Linked DNA regions of Homo sapiens: all the other regions are linked to region 1. The links are contacts of gene promoters, found by promoter capture Hi-C in blood cells and fetal thymus (Javierre and others, 2016). All regions are on one chromosome and are shown on one strand. The core of a region is centred on a gene start or on the middle of the fragment in contact, and the rest is flanking DNA. Distances in the headings are between cores, read along the strand shown.

What was found. The method cuts DNA at HindIII sites, captures the fragments that hold promoters and counts their contacts. A CHiCAGO score of 5 or more calls a contact.
Region 2: a contact is called between a fragment that was not itself captured here and the fragment with the promoter of IL15RA in region 1, in 1 of 17 cell types (non-activated CD4 T cells). The highest score is 5.5, in non-activated CD4 T cells.
Region 3: a fragment that was not itself captured here is called in contact with the fragment with the promoter of IL15RA in region 1 in 7 of 17 cell types (naive B cells, M1 macrophages, total B cells and 4 more); the score reaches 6.6 in naive B cells.

What each region holds. Positions count from the first base shown.
Region 1 is chr10:5,975,413-5,979,390 of GRCh38, reverse strand. It overlaps IL15RA (interleukin 15 receptor subunit alpha), which reads left to right and starts at 1,848. Exons shown (of 7, transcript NM_002189.4): 1 at 1,848-1,986. The coding sequence starts at 1,899. RefSeq lists silencers at 1,085-1,754, 1,845-2,224 and enhancers at 3,115-3,194, 3,325-3,594. The HindIII fragment of the contact is 10,589 bases long and covers 1-3,978 here.
Region 2 is chr10:6,425,261-6,429,238 of GRCh38, reverse strand. PRKCQ (protein kinase C theta) reads left to right here. Exons shown (of 18, transcript NM_006257.5): 18 at 877-2,091. The coding sequence ends at 1,032. Among named protein-coding and RNA genes, the nearest start is that of LINC02656, 77 kb to the right of the region's middle. The HindIII fragment of the contact is 3,583 bases long and covers 23-3,605 here.
Region 3 is chr10:6,398,696-6,402,673 of GRCh38, reverse strand. It overlaps LOC124902370 (a long non-coding RNA gene), which reads left to right. Exons shown (of 2, transcript XR_007062044.1): 2 at 873-3,978. It also overlaps a transcript of PRKCQ not described here. Among named protein-coding and RNA genes, the nearest start is that of LINC02656, 50 kb to the right of the region's middle. The HindIII fragment of the contact is 5,114 bases long and covers 1-3,978 here.

The sequences.
Region 1 (3,978 bases), core at 599-3,098:
TAAAAATATTCCCTACCAGTTGACTCAATAGTTCCACTGTAGGAAATCTATTCTAAGCGATCTTAAATTCACAAGATTTTGTAGAAAGACATTTATGACAATGTTATCTTTAATATTAAAATAATAGAGGGGATGTTAAACTATGATAATTTGCAGCCATTAAAAACTTTTACAAAGAGTCTGTAATAATGGAGAAATCTCTACTTCATAAATGTCCATAGAATAAAAAATGCTCTATTGTATACATGCTATGCTTAGCCTGCATTCAATAAACCCTCAATATATTTGAGAATATTAAGGAATATTGTTAATTTTTAAATTTGATCTTATCATCTTGAGATTTATTATTAAGTATTGAGAGAAATTGAATAATGTGGGATTTCCCCAGTTGGAGTAAGGGTGGCTATTCCTGCTTAGAAAAAAAGAATGGACCTTGTGTGGTCACTGCCGGATGGTAGGTTCATTATTCTTTCTACTTTTTTTTTTTAAATTTAAGAGACAGGAACTGGCTGTGTTGCCCAGGCTGGAGTGCAGTGGTGCGATCTCAGCTCACTGCAACCTCAGCCTCCTGGGTTCAAGTGATTCTCCTGCCTCAGCCTCCTGAATAGCTGGGATTACAGGCGCCCGCCACCATGCCCAGCTAATTTTGGTATTTTTAGTAGAGATGGGGTTTCACCATGTTGGCCAGGCTAGTCTCGAATTCCTGACTTCAGGCGATCCACCTGCCTTGGCCTCCGAAAGTGCTTGGATTTCAGGAGTGGCCACCGCGCTCGGCCCTAAATTCTTTTATTTAACTTTTAAGTTCAGGGTTATAAGTGCAGGTTTGTTATAAAGGTAAACCTGTGTCTTGGGGGATTATTGTACAGATTATTTCGTTTTCAAAGAGAATTTGCAAGTATGTCACAAAAGCCTCATAAACACGTTGTGAGATTTTAAGAGGCAATGACCGAGGCTTGGAGATGTCTCGTCCTGTCCAATGTCACCGCTAGACCTGAGAATCTGCACTTGGGAGCTTACAGACCCGGTTCTCAGGCTTCACTTGAGACCCCAAGAAAGAAAAAAACCCACCAGCCAAAGAGGAGGATGGCAGCCTGGAAGAACCTAAGGAAGCGAGGCTCAGAGGTGAAGCACTGTGGCTCCTCTCCCCCTTCTCCCCCCTCCGCCCCCTCTCCTTCTAAGATGAGGCATTTTCTAGGGGAGCAAAGCTGCAGCAGGAATTCGGCGAAGTGGCGGAGCTGGGGCCCCAGCGGGCGCCGGGGGCCGCGGGAGCCAGCAGGTGGCGGGGGCTGCGCTCCGCCCGGGCCAGAGCGCACCAGGCAGGTGCCCGCGCCTCCGCACCGCGGCGACACCTCCGCGGGCACTCACCCAGGCCGGCCGCTCACAACCGAGCGCAGGGCCGCGGAGGGAGACCAGGAAAGCCGAAGGCGGAGCAGCTGGAGGCGACCAGCGCCGGGCGAGGTCAAGTGGATCCGAGCCGCAGAGAGGGCTGGAGAGAGTCTGCTCTCCGATGACTTTGCCCACTCTCTTCGCAGTGGGGACACCGGACCGAGTGCACACTGGAGGTCCCAGAGCACGACGAGCGCGGAGGACCGGGAGGCTCCCGGGCTTGCGTGGGTAAGGTCCTGGGTCCCCACCGGGCACGGCCCATGCGTCCCGGGGACAGGGGTGGCTGTGCGGTGCCGCGGCGGCCGGCGGGGCTCCTTCCCCAGCAGGGGTGGGGACGCTGAGTCACGGATCTGTCACCGCTTTGCACCTCTCCGAGCCCTCGGGGGCCAAAGCAAAAGCGAAAGCGAATGCGACTGGCGGGGCGGCAGGTCCCAGAGCAGCGCTCGCCACCTCCCCCCGGCCTGGGCAGCGCTCGCCCGGGGAGTCCAGCGGTGTCCTGTGGAGCTGCCGCCATGGCCCCGCGGCGGGCGCGCGGCTGCCGGACCCTCGGTCTCCCGGCGCTGCTACTGCTGCTGCTGCTCCGGCCGCCGGCGACGCGGGGTAGGGAGCTGGGAGCAGGGGCGCCCGGGCGGGACTTGGAAGGGGGCCGGGACGTGGAGCTGGAGGGAACCGGGCGCCCCATCTCCCCGGGCCGTGCGGGGGCGTCGGTGCCCTCGGGAGCGCGGTGCGCGCAGGCCCAGGCCGGGGAGGGGACGCGGCGCCGGGCAGGAGGGACACGTGCCGGGAGCCGGGGTCGCAGGGAGAGCGCCGCCGCTGCGCCCGGGTCACCCACGTAAGGGAGCGGGCGGCCTGGCTGGGGTCTCCGAGGCCGAGGTCAGGAGCAGTTCTGAGAAGCCCGTTTTGGCCACGGGAGCGCGGAGCCGGCGGCGTCCAGCAGTTTGGAGACACGGGCGAGTGCGCTTCTCCCAGGCGCCTGGACTGCAGGGCGGGTGTTGCATAGCACGCGGTCCTCGGAGGGGTCCGGGAGAAACTACTCCTCCCGACTCCCAGGCAAAAGTAAATTATGTCAGTGGGAGCTGGGAGGGTGGGGAGGAGCTGTGTCCCAGGGGGAAACGCGTCGGGCAAGTTGCACACCTGGGGACCTGGAAACAACTTCCAATTCTTAAGCGATCAGGAAACCAGCAGAGGCGGTCGGGACCGGATGGGGGTGGGGAGTGGGGGCCAGCCTGGAGTCTACACTCGCAGAAAAAGGGGGAAGAGATCTGTGATCGCTTGGTGTATTCGAGAAGAAAGCGGGTCGCGGAGCTCTGATCTCGGCAGGGAGGACGGAATGAGCGATTCCTAGGGGTTTTGTCCCGGCAGCCAGAGGAAGGAGGAAAACAGTAGCAGGGTCTAGCTCTATCCTTGTCAGCGCTTCTTTATCTTTTTATAGTCAGGGAGCTCTTGGAGGGTCTGATGAAAGCTATGAACCCCCGGCCCCCAGAAAAATGCATGAATGAACATAGTTACAAAATGTGCATATGATTTTGGGGTCAAAGCCCCACTGAAGGCCATCCATGGACTCTCTATAGGAATTAGTAACGCCATGATCTGTGTGTGTTTTTAAGCGAGACCCTGAATAATTTACATCCAGTCGGGCCAGTCTGCCCAGGCCCTGGCCAAAGCCATTCCACGCACAGTTGCTGCTGCCTGGTGTGGCCTGAACGCCCCCCCACCCTCTGCCACCCCCACCCCAGCTCTGCGAGGCTTCTTGAAGTTTCGTTTTCATGAGACTCTGATGCTTGGATTTCCCCCCACATCTGAGAAGCAGAGTTAGTTGGTGACCGGTTGGTTCCTCCCAGTTGGCTAGCAGTGTCACAGGACCCCATAGCTGGCAACTGGGGCAGCTGGATTACACAATATGAAAGTGAAATGCAGCCTTAGTCAAAGCCCAGCAGAGAGGAGGTGTCTTCCTTGAAGACTGAGTGGATAGGGGAGCACCACTGTGAGATCTCTGATCTCATCAGCTGCACAGCCTTGCCCTTTGACCTTAGAAAGATGTTGCTACCTTCCCTTCCCAAAGCTCTCAATGTTTTTTCTTTTTCTTTTTCTTTCTTTCTTGTTTTCTTTTTTGAGACGGAGTCTCACTCTGTCACCCCGGCTGGGGTGCAGTAGCGCGATCTCAGCTCACTGCAACCTCCGCCTCCTGGGTTCAAGCGATTCTGCTGCCTCAGCCTCCTGAGTAGCTGGGATTACAGGCGATCGCCACCACGCCCAGTAACTTTTGTGTTTTTAATAGAGACGGGGTTTCATCATGTTGGTCAGGCTGATCCAACATGGTGATCACTCCTGACCTTGTGATCTGCCCGCCTCGGCCTTCCAAAGTGCTGGGATTACAGGCGTGAGCCAGCTTGCCCAGCCGTTGTTTTTTTTCCCTTTAACAGCCTTATTGAGGTATAATTGACCGACAATAAACTGCATATATTGAAGTTGCACACTTTGATAAGTTTGGAGGTAAATGCATACATACTCATGAAACCACTGCCACCACCAAGAGTGAACACAACTATCACTCCCAAAGACTTCCTCATGCCCTGCACAGTCCTCATCTCC
Region 2 (3,978 bases), core at 565-3,064, 450 kb before region 1:
AATCAAAACTTTGATCTAAGCTTACCCTAAAGGACATTCCCAGTTCTGCCAGTAGGAAACTTTCCCTGACCTGTGGTCTGAGCTGCCATTGACCTCACAGCCCCAGGGCCCCTTGGAGGGTGGGAGGGGCCTGGTTCTTCATTTCGCTTCTCTGTGTTCATAGCACTTTCTGTTGATAATGGTTGTTCTCAATCTTGGGACACTGAATTGAACACCATACTGAACAGCATGTATGAAATAGATGTTTGCTTTCCCTTTCTCTGTTGTTTGGTTTGGTTTTGGTTTTTTTGCCATGAAAACCAATGGACCAAGTGGTCTGAAAGGAGTCTGTCCCAGTCTGTGCTGTCTAAAAAAGCCCAAGATACTTACTAATAAAATTAACAAGGGCAGGGGACTGACAACAGCCAAGAACGTTGATAAAAGAACAGGAATATGTAATTGTGAAATTCCTTCTCTCTTCCCATCCCTCCGCTCACACCCCCTCACTCCCTCTCCCCACCACCCTCCCTTATCCCCACCTTGTGTTCCATGAAAACTGAAGAGGCAGAGGTCAAATTCAGGTGGATCACTTTTTCAAAGGTTGCCAACCCTGCTTCATGTAAACCATTAGAAACATTAGATCCCATTTGAATGTCTACAGTCGTAGTCTTTCTGTGAATTTATGAATTTATATTATTATTAAGCTGAGGACACAGGATCACAGCCATGTTCAATGAGAGCTGGGCATGGTCATCTGTAGGCATTGCCTCCATTTAGTGTCTCTGCAAACACCAACTTTGCCATACGCAGATCACGGCCTAGATAACAAAAGTGAAGATCATGAACTTAATGGCTGATTTTTCTTCTCTTTCTTTCTTCCCTTAAACTCTGACTAAGAAATCACCATTTGACTGCAGCAATTTCGACAAAGAATTCTTAAACGAGAAGCCCCGGCTGTCATTTGCCGACAGAGCACTGATCAACAGCATGGACCAGAATATGTTCAGGAACTTTTCCTTCATGAACCCCGGGATGGAGCGGCTGATATCCTGAATCTTGCCCCTCCAGAGACAGGAAAGAATTTGCCTTCTCCCTGGGAACTGGTTCAAGAGACACTGCTTGGGTTCCTTTTTCAACTTGGAAAAAGAAAGAAACACTCAACAATAAAGACTGAGACCCGTTCGCCCCCATGTGACTTTTATCTGTAGCAGAAACCAAGTCTACTTCACTAATGACGATGCCGTGTGTCTCGTCTCCTGACATGTCTCACAGACGCTCCTGAAGTTAGGTCATTACTAACCATAGTTATTTACTTGAAAGATGGGTCTCCGCACTTGGAAAGGTTTCAAGACTTGATACTGCAATAAATTATGGCTCTTCACCTGGGCGCCAACTGCTGATCAATGAAATGCTTGTTGAATCAGGGGCAAACGGAGTACAGACGTCTCAAGACTGAAACGGCCCCATTGCCTGGTCTAGTAGCGGATCTCACTCAGCCGCAGACAAGTAATCACTAACCCGTTTTATTCTATTCCTATCTGTGGATGTGTAAATGGCTGGGGGGCCAGCCCTGGATAGGTTTTTATGGGAATTCTTTACAATAAACATAGCTTGTAACTTGAGATCTACAAATCCATTCATCCTGATTGGGCATGAAATCCATGGTCAAGAGGACAAGTGGAAAGTGAGAGGGAAGGTTTGCTAGACACCTTCGCTTGTTATCTTGTCAAGATAGAAAAGATAGTATCATTTCACCCTTGCCAGTAAAAACCTTTCCATCCACCCATTCTCAGCAGACTCCAGTATTGGCACAGTCACTCACTGCCATTCTCACACTATAACAAGAAAAGAAATGAAGTGCATAAGTCTCCTGGGAAAAGAACCTTAACCCCTTCTCGTGCCATGACTGGTGATTTCATGACTCATAAGCCCCTCCGTAGGCATCATTCAAGATCAATGGCCCATGCATGCTGTTTGCAGCAGTCAATTGAGTTGAATTAGAATTCCAACCATACATTTTAAAGGTATTTGTGCTGTGTGTATATTTTGATAAAATGTTGTGACTTCATGGCAAACAGGTGGATGTGTAAAAATGGAATAAAAAAAAAAAAAGAGTCCTCTTAATCGTTTACTTCCCCGCTTGCCCCCCACAAGAACTTGCTTCTGCTGTGTCAGTCCTCAAAATGTAGCTAGCATTGAGATGATGTTTTACAGTTGGGGGATTGGCTGGGCACGATGGCTCACGCCTGTAATCCCAGCACTTTGGGAGGCCAATGTGGGCAGATCACCTAAGGTCAGGAGTTCGAGACCAGCCTGGCCAATATGGTGAAACCCTGTCTCTACTAAAAATACAAAAATTAGCCAGGCGTGGTGGCGGGGGCCTATAATCCCAGCTACCTGGGAGGCTGAGGCAGGAGTAGAGTAAGACAAAGGGTGAGGAAGTCAGATGACATTAAGGCAATTGTAAGAAAAGCAAGTCTGCATAATATTCGGAGTCACTAGCCTACCTCATCACATGGCTGGAAATAACTTTAGATATTATATTTAAAATAGAATAATTAATATAAGCAGACTGTTGACAGTCTGCAGGTGTGCTGGAACATTTTCCTGACTATACGGAGCTCTTGTGATTTTTTTTAAATAGACACTCCCCTAAAATGAACACGAGTAACCTCATTTAAGGATGGGCATCTATCTTCAGATGTGTCCATTCAGGTGTCCGGGCCCTTTGTTCTGAAAATAGCACCATGACTACAAACCTCTAGTTATGTGAGAAGGCGACACTTGTCCTCCCCTTGCTCCAAATGAAAATGCTCACACATGTTTACCAAATTCACCTGCTTGAAGGAGGGAGAGGGTCCTTTAAGGCCCTGGATGGGCCAGTGGAGGGCAGGGAGCCGCCCGTTCTGTTCTGATCTCTGCTCTGCTTTGCATTTGCTGTGAAGCCCTGAACAAGTCATTTCATCTTTTGGGGCCTCCAAGTAATGGAGGTGAAGATGCTGTCTAAAGTCCCGTCTCACTAGAGTGATGGGGTCGGTGAAGACGCTATCTAAAGTCCCTTCTCACTAGAGCAATGGGGTTGGTGAAGACGCTATCTAAAGTCCTCACTAGAGCGCTTTCTGGTTCTAAATCTGAATCAAAATCCTGCAAAGTTAAAAGGTCAGTGAGCAACACTTTCCAAAACACAGACACTCGTGGATTCCACTCGCTGCAGGCCTGGGGGCAGCTCTACCCCATTTTCCTTCCAGTCGTCCTCTCCTCACTCTGGGTTCCCACATACCCCTGCCCCAGCACCCAGCATCCTCCTGACACCCAGAGACCCCAACAGGACCCCTACCAGGAGACAAATAAGTGAAGACTGTTGGCTCTTAGAAACAGGAACCAACGCAACTTTTATCCCCTCCACTAGACCAAAATAAGGTCTATTCATCATTTGGTTTTGTTTGTTTTATTTTTTATTTTTTTGAATTAGAGACAGAGTCTCCCTATGTTTCCTAGGCTGGTCTTGAACTCCTGGACTCAAATGATCCCCCTGCCTCACTCTACCAAAGTGCTGGGATTACAGGCCTCATCATTTGTTTTTAATAAATGTCATCTGTATGAATATGTCAGGTGACTAACAAGCTTACTATTTGCTTCGTATTTCTGAGTGTGCGAAGTACTTGTTACTTCCTTCTATTCTTTCAGGTGTCCTCTGAAATTGCTTATTAATATCCCTATTTAATAGGTGAGAGACCTGGCCAGGTGCGGTGGTTCACGCCTGTAATCCCAGCACTTTGGGAGACCCAGGCAGGCAGATCATGAGGTCAGGAGTTTGAGACCAGCCTGACCAACATGGTGAAACCCCGTCTACTAAAAATACAAAAAATTAGCTGAGCATGGTGGCACGCGTCTGTAATCCCAGCTACTCAGGAGGCTGAGGCAGGAGAATCGCTTGAACTCGGGAGGCGGAGGTCGCAGTGAGCTGAGATCGCGCTACTGCACTCCAGCCTGGGCGAC
Region 3 (3,978 bases), core at 405-2,904, 420 kb before region 1:
ATGAGCCACCCTGCCCGGCCCTTAATAGAACTCTTAAAGGCCACACAGTGCTTCACTTTATACAAGAAAGCTCGGAACAGAAAAAGTAGTTACTGCCACTCTTCTTTGAAATTGTTAAGTCCCCTTTGCTTCTTTGGGTACACGGAGAAGTTGCCAAGGCAACCCGAGCAGGGAGATGCGGAGTCAGGCTTTTCTGTCTGTGTCCTTCATGTTGGGTACAGTGCTTCACACATGGTAGGCGTGAGGGAGGAAAGAGCGGAAGGAATAGATGAAGCTCAGCTTTTTTTTTTTTTTTTTTTTTTGGCATTGAAATTGCACTCTTTTGGGGTTTTTTAAAATTATAGTTTAAGTTCTGGGGTAGATGTGCAGAACACGCAGTTTTGTTACATAGGTATGCACGTGCCATGGTGGTCTCCTGCACCCATCAACATTAGGTATTTCTCCTAATGCTATCCCTCCCCTAGTCCCCAATCCCCCAACAGGCCCCGGTGTGTGATGTTCCCCTCCCTGCGTCCATGCGTTCTCATTGTTCAACTCCCACTTATGAGTGAGAACATGCGGTGTTTGGTTTTCTGTTCTTGTGTTAGTTTGCCGAGAATGATGGTTTCCAGCTTCTTTGCAGCGTCTGTGTTCTTCCAATAGTTCCCAGCCGCACTATTTTGGACTTGAGTCACTAGAGGGAGGCAGAGGAACATGAAAAAGCTGCAGTTTCCGTCCCTGCTGGGCAGGGCTGCCTCAGACCTGAGCTGAGGACTCAGGAACTTCAGTGACCAGGCAGGATTAGAGATGGGAAGAATTCCAGGCTTCAGCCTTCCCCTTAATTCAAGATGTGTATTCTGCCTTTAATCAGAGTGTAACCTATGTATTTGTAGGAAATAATAAGAAAAAAGCTGCTTATTGCAGAGCCATGTAGAATTATCGGGTGGAAGTCAGAGAAAGAGACGGCGGGTCAACAGCTCCCAGCAGACAGCGTGACTCAGCAGGAAAGCCCGTGGGAATCAGAGCTTTGGGACCAGAGTGCCCTGGCCCCGCAATCCTCACCAAGTGGCTGGCGCTCAGAACCCCAGGTGTTGTAATCAGTAAAAGGGTGGCGGTAATCACTTCTACCTCATTGGGTTACTATACAAAGCACGAAAATGGATCAATATTTAAAAAAAAAAAACCAGCCCTCTCCTAAAACAGAGGAGAACTATATGGATGTCAATCCAATTATTACTATTAACCATGTGTTCAAGTCATGAGGTTGTCTACTTAATTATGTCCTTAAAGTTTGTTGACCTTAAATAAGGTGATACAGAAAATATGATGAAGTATGGGGTTTATTTGAGTACAGAGCTTGAGAACGGTCACCCGGAAAACACAGACCCCAAAGGGACATGCTCTAAAGTGGGGAAGCTAAGGCTGTGCTTACATAGGTAGAGATGGTTTCGGCAGGTTGCAATGTTTTCCGTGCAAGGCTAGATACATGTCATAGCGATTTGATTAGGGTGGCTTGCTCCATTCCATGGAAGATGGCTGTAATGTTCTGTGAGGACAAGAGTAATGTTCTGAGGGGTCACCACTCAGAGGGTCTTATTTCTGGTGCTACTCGGTCATTCCTAATCGTTTACGGGAAAAAGCAGAAGTTGCAACGGCATGCTATGTGACTCAGTCCATTTCTCTCAAGGCTCAGAATAAAGTTCCAACAGTTTTAAATTTGAATTATTTAATTTTGCAAGTTCTCCAGAAGACAGTAAGCTCTAAAAGGGAACGAACTATGGTCGTTGTTCTTAGCATCTAACATGGTACCCATTCAATATTTTTTCTTTCTTTCTTCTGCTTTTTGTAGAAGTGGGGTCTTTCTATGTCGCCCAGGCTAGATTTGAACCCCTGGGCTCAAGCATCGTCCCACCTCAGCCTGCCGAGCACCCAGGACTGTAGGTGCATGCCAGCTGGCAGATTTTTTTTTTTTTTTTCAGTTTCTTAAATGAATGAGTAAAAACACTTACATGTAGCCAAACCATATAATTTACTAGCTAAAATGAGCCTTTTTTTTTTTTTTTCTGAAAGGAAGCACTGTTAGCAATTACTCCAGGAAACAGGTTAAAAGCAGAACTGTCCTGGGCCTGCCGAGACACGGGACGTGGGATTGCTCGAGAGATCCAGCTCTCGCTGTGTGTTGAAATATAGTTCAGGGCACACTGCTCAGGGCTGGGACTGCCCTGCGTATATGACAGTATTAAGTCATCTCACCTGCATAACAACACAGCGAGGTTGGTACTGTGACTACTCACATTCAACAAATGTGTATGGACCACCTGCTGTCTTCCAAGTCTTCCAGAATCTTGGAATGCATCAAAACACAACAAGCAAGATGTCTGTCCTTTCAGAGCAGGAGATGAGGAAGACAGACAGTAAATCACAAACATAGCAAACAAGTAAATTACATAGTTTGCTAAAAGGTACTGGGGCTACAGATGAAAGAAGGGCAGAGCCGGGGGATTCAGTGTTGAATGAGGAAACTCAGGTAGAGAACACCAAGTCAGCAGCCGACATCTCCAGCTGGCTAGTAACAGAGCCCCATTCTAACTTGGGCAATCTGGCCACGTTCCTGCTCTTCACCTGGACTCTGCCTTCTCTTTCAGTTCTGACGTGCGTCAAACCGTGCAGCATGTTCAAATTCATTCAAATCCATCAGTGGCACAGAAGAACACACAAAATCTGGCAATACTTCCTTGAACTAAACTCAGTGTCCGCCCCCCCAACCCCCGATTGATGCCAGACATTTGCCACCCTGGGGACTTGATCTGAGTGACCTTGGGTTCATAGGAGATGCTGGGCCCTTGGAATTGATTGTCTACCCTGTAGGAATGGAGGCCACATCTCTGTTCTGCCTGGAGAACTTTTTCATCATGAGTTTGTGGAATCCGCCAGCCAAGCCCACCAGACAGGACTAAACAAACGACTCTAGGGGGAAAGGCCAGGCTTCCTGAAAGTCTAAATTGCTTGAACTAATGCTGGCATTTCAGCATTTTGAGCCATTCAAGCCACATGATGTCAAACTTCCTCTCCTCCACCCCCATCTCCTCACCCTGCTCTCTTCTGCCTCTTGACCTTCCTCATCTTGTGGCTCTGGCAAAACTCCAGGGTGGCTATTCAACCTGTCTCAACACACCCTGTGCCAAAAAAAAATAAAAAGAAGGAAAAAAAAAAGGGGGCAATTTCTGTCTCCAGGGCAAGGGCTGCTGGGCTCAGCCGGGTGGATGTTGCCAAGAGCGCAGCAATAGCTCCAGGCTAGGCAGGGAGCACAAAGGAATCTTTAAATTTAAAACTCACTGCAGAAAGGAATTGAGCACATTCTCAACATTCTGAGTCTGTGTGTTTATGTTTAAATATTCCAACCACTAGCTTACATACCATCTAGTAAGTAAATCACGGTGAATATTTATCGAGGACCTACTATATGCAAGGCACTCTGCTCACCATTATTTACTTGTGGGGACACTATGGCTTTCACCCAAAGCTGTCATTCTCTAGGCTGCCTTTTCATATCTACAAAGCAAGGGAGTTTACATTGACAGTCTCCAGAAATTCAGCTTTAATGGCTGGGTGCAGTGGCTCAGCCATTGTATCATTGTATCATTGTATTGATATGCCTGTAATCTCAGCACTTTGGGAGGCTGAGGCAGGCAGATTGCTTGAGTTCAGAAGTTCGAGACCAGCCTGGGCAACATGGTGAAATCCTACAGAAAACTCTATAAAATTTTTTTTTAATTAGTTGGGTGTGGTGGCTTGCACCTGTGGTCCTAGATACTCGGGAAGCTAAGGTGGGAGGATGGCTTGAGCCCAGGAGGTAGAGGTTGCAGTGAGCTGTAATTGCGCCACTGCACTCCAGCCTGGGTGACAGAGCCAGACTGTGTCTCAAAAAAGAAAAGAGAAAAAAAAAGAAAAAGAAAAATTCAGCTCTAAAATTGTGACTCGTTCCTTGCTCTACTGTGA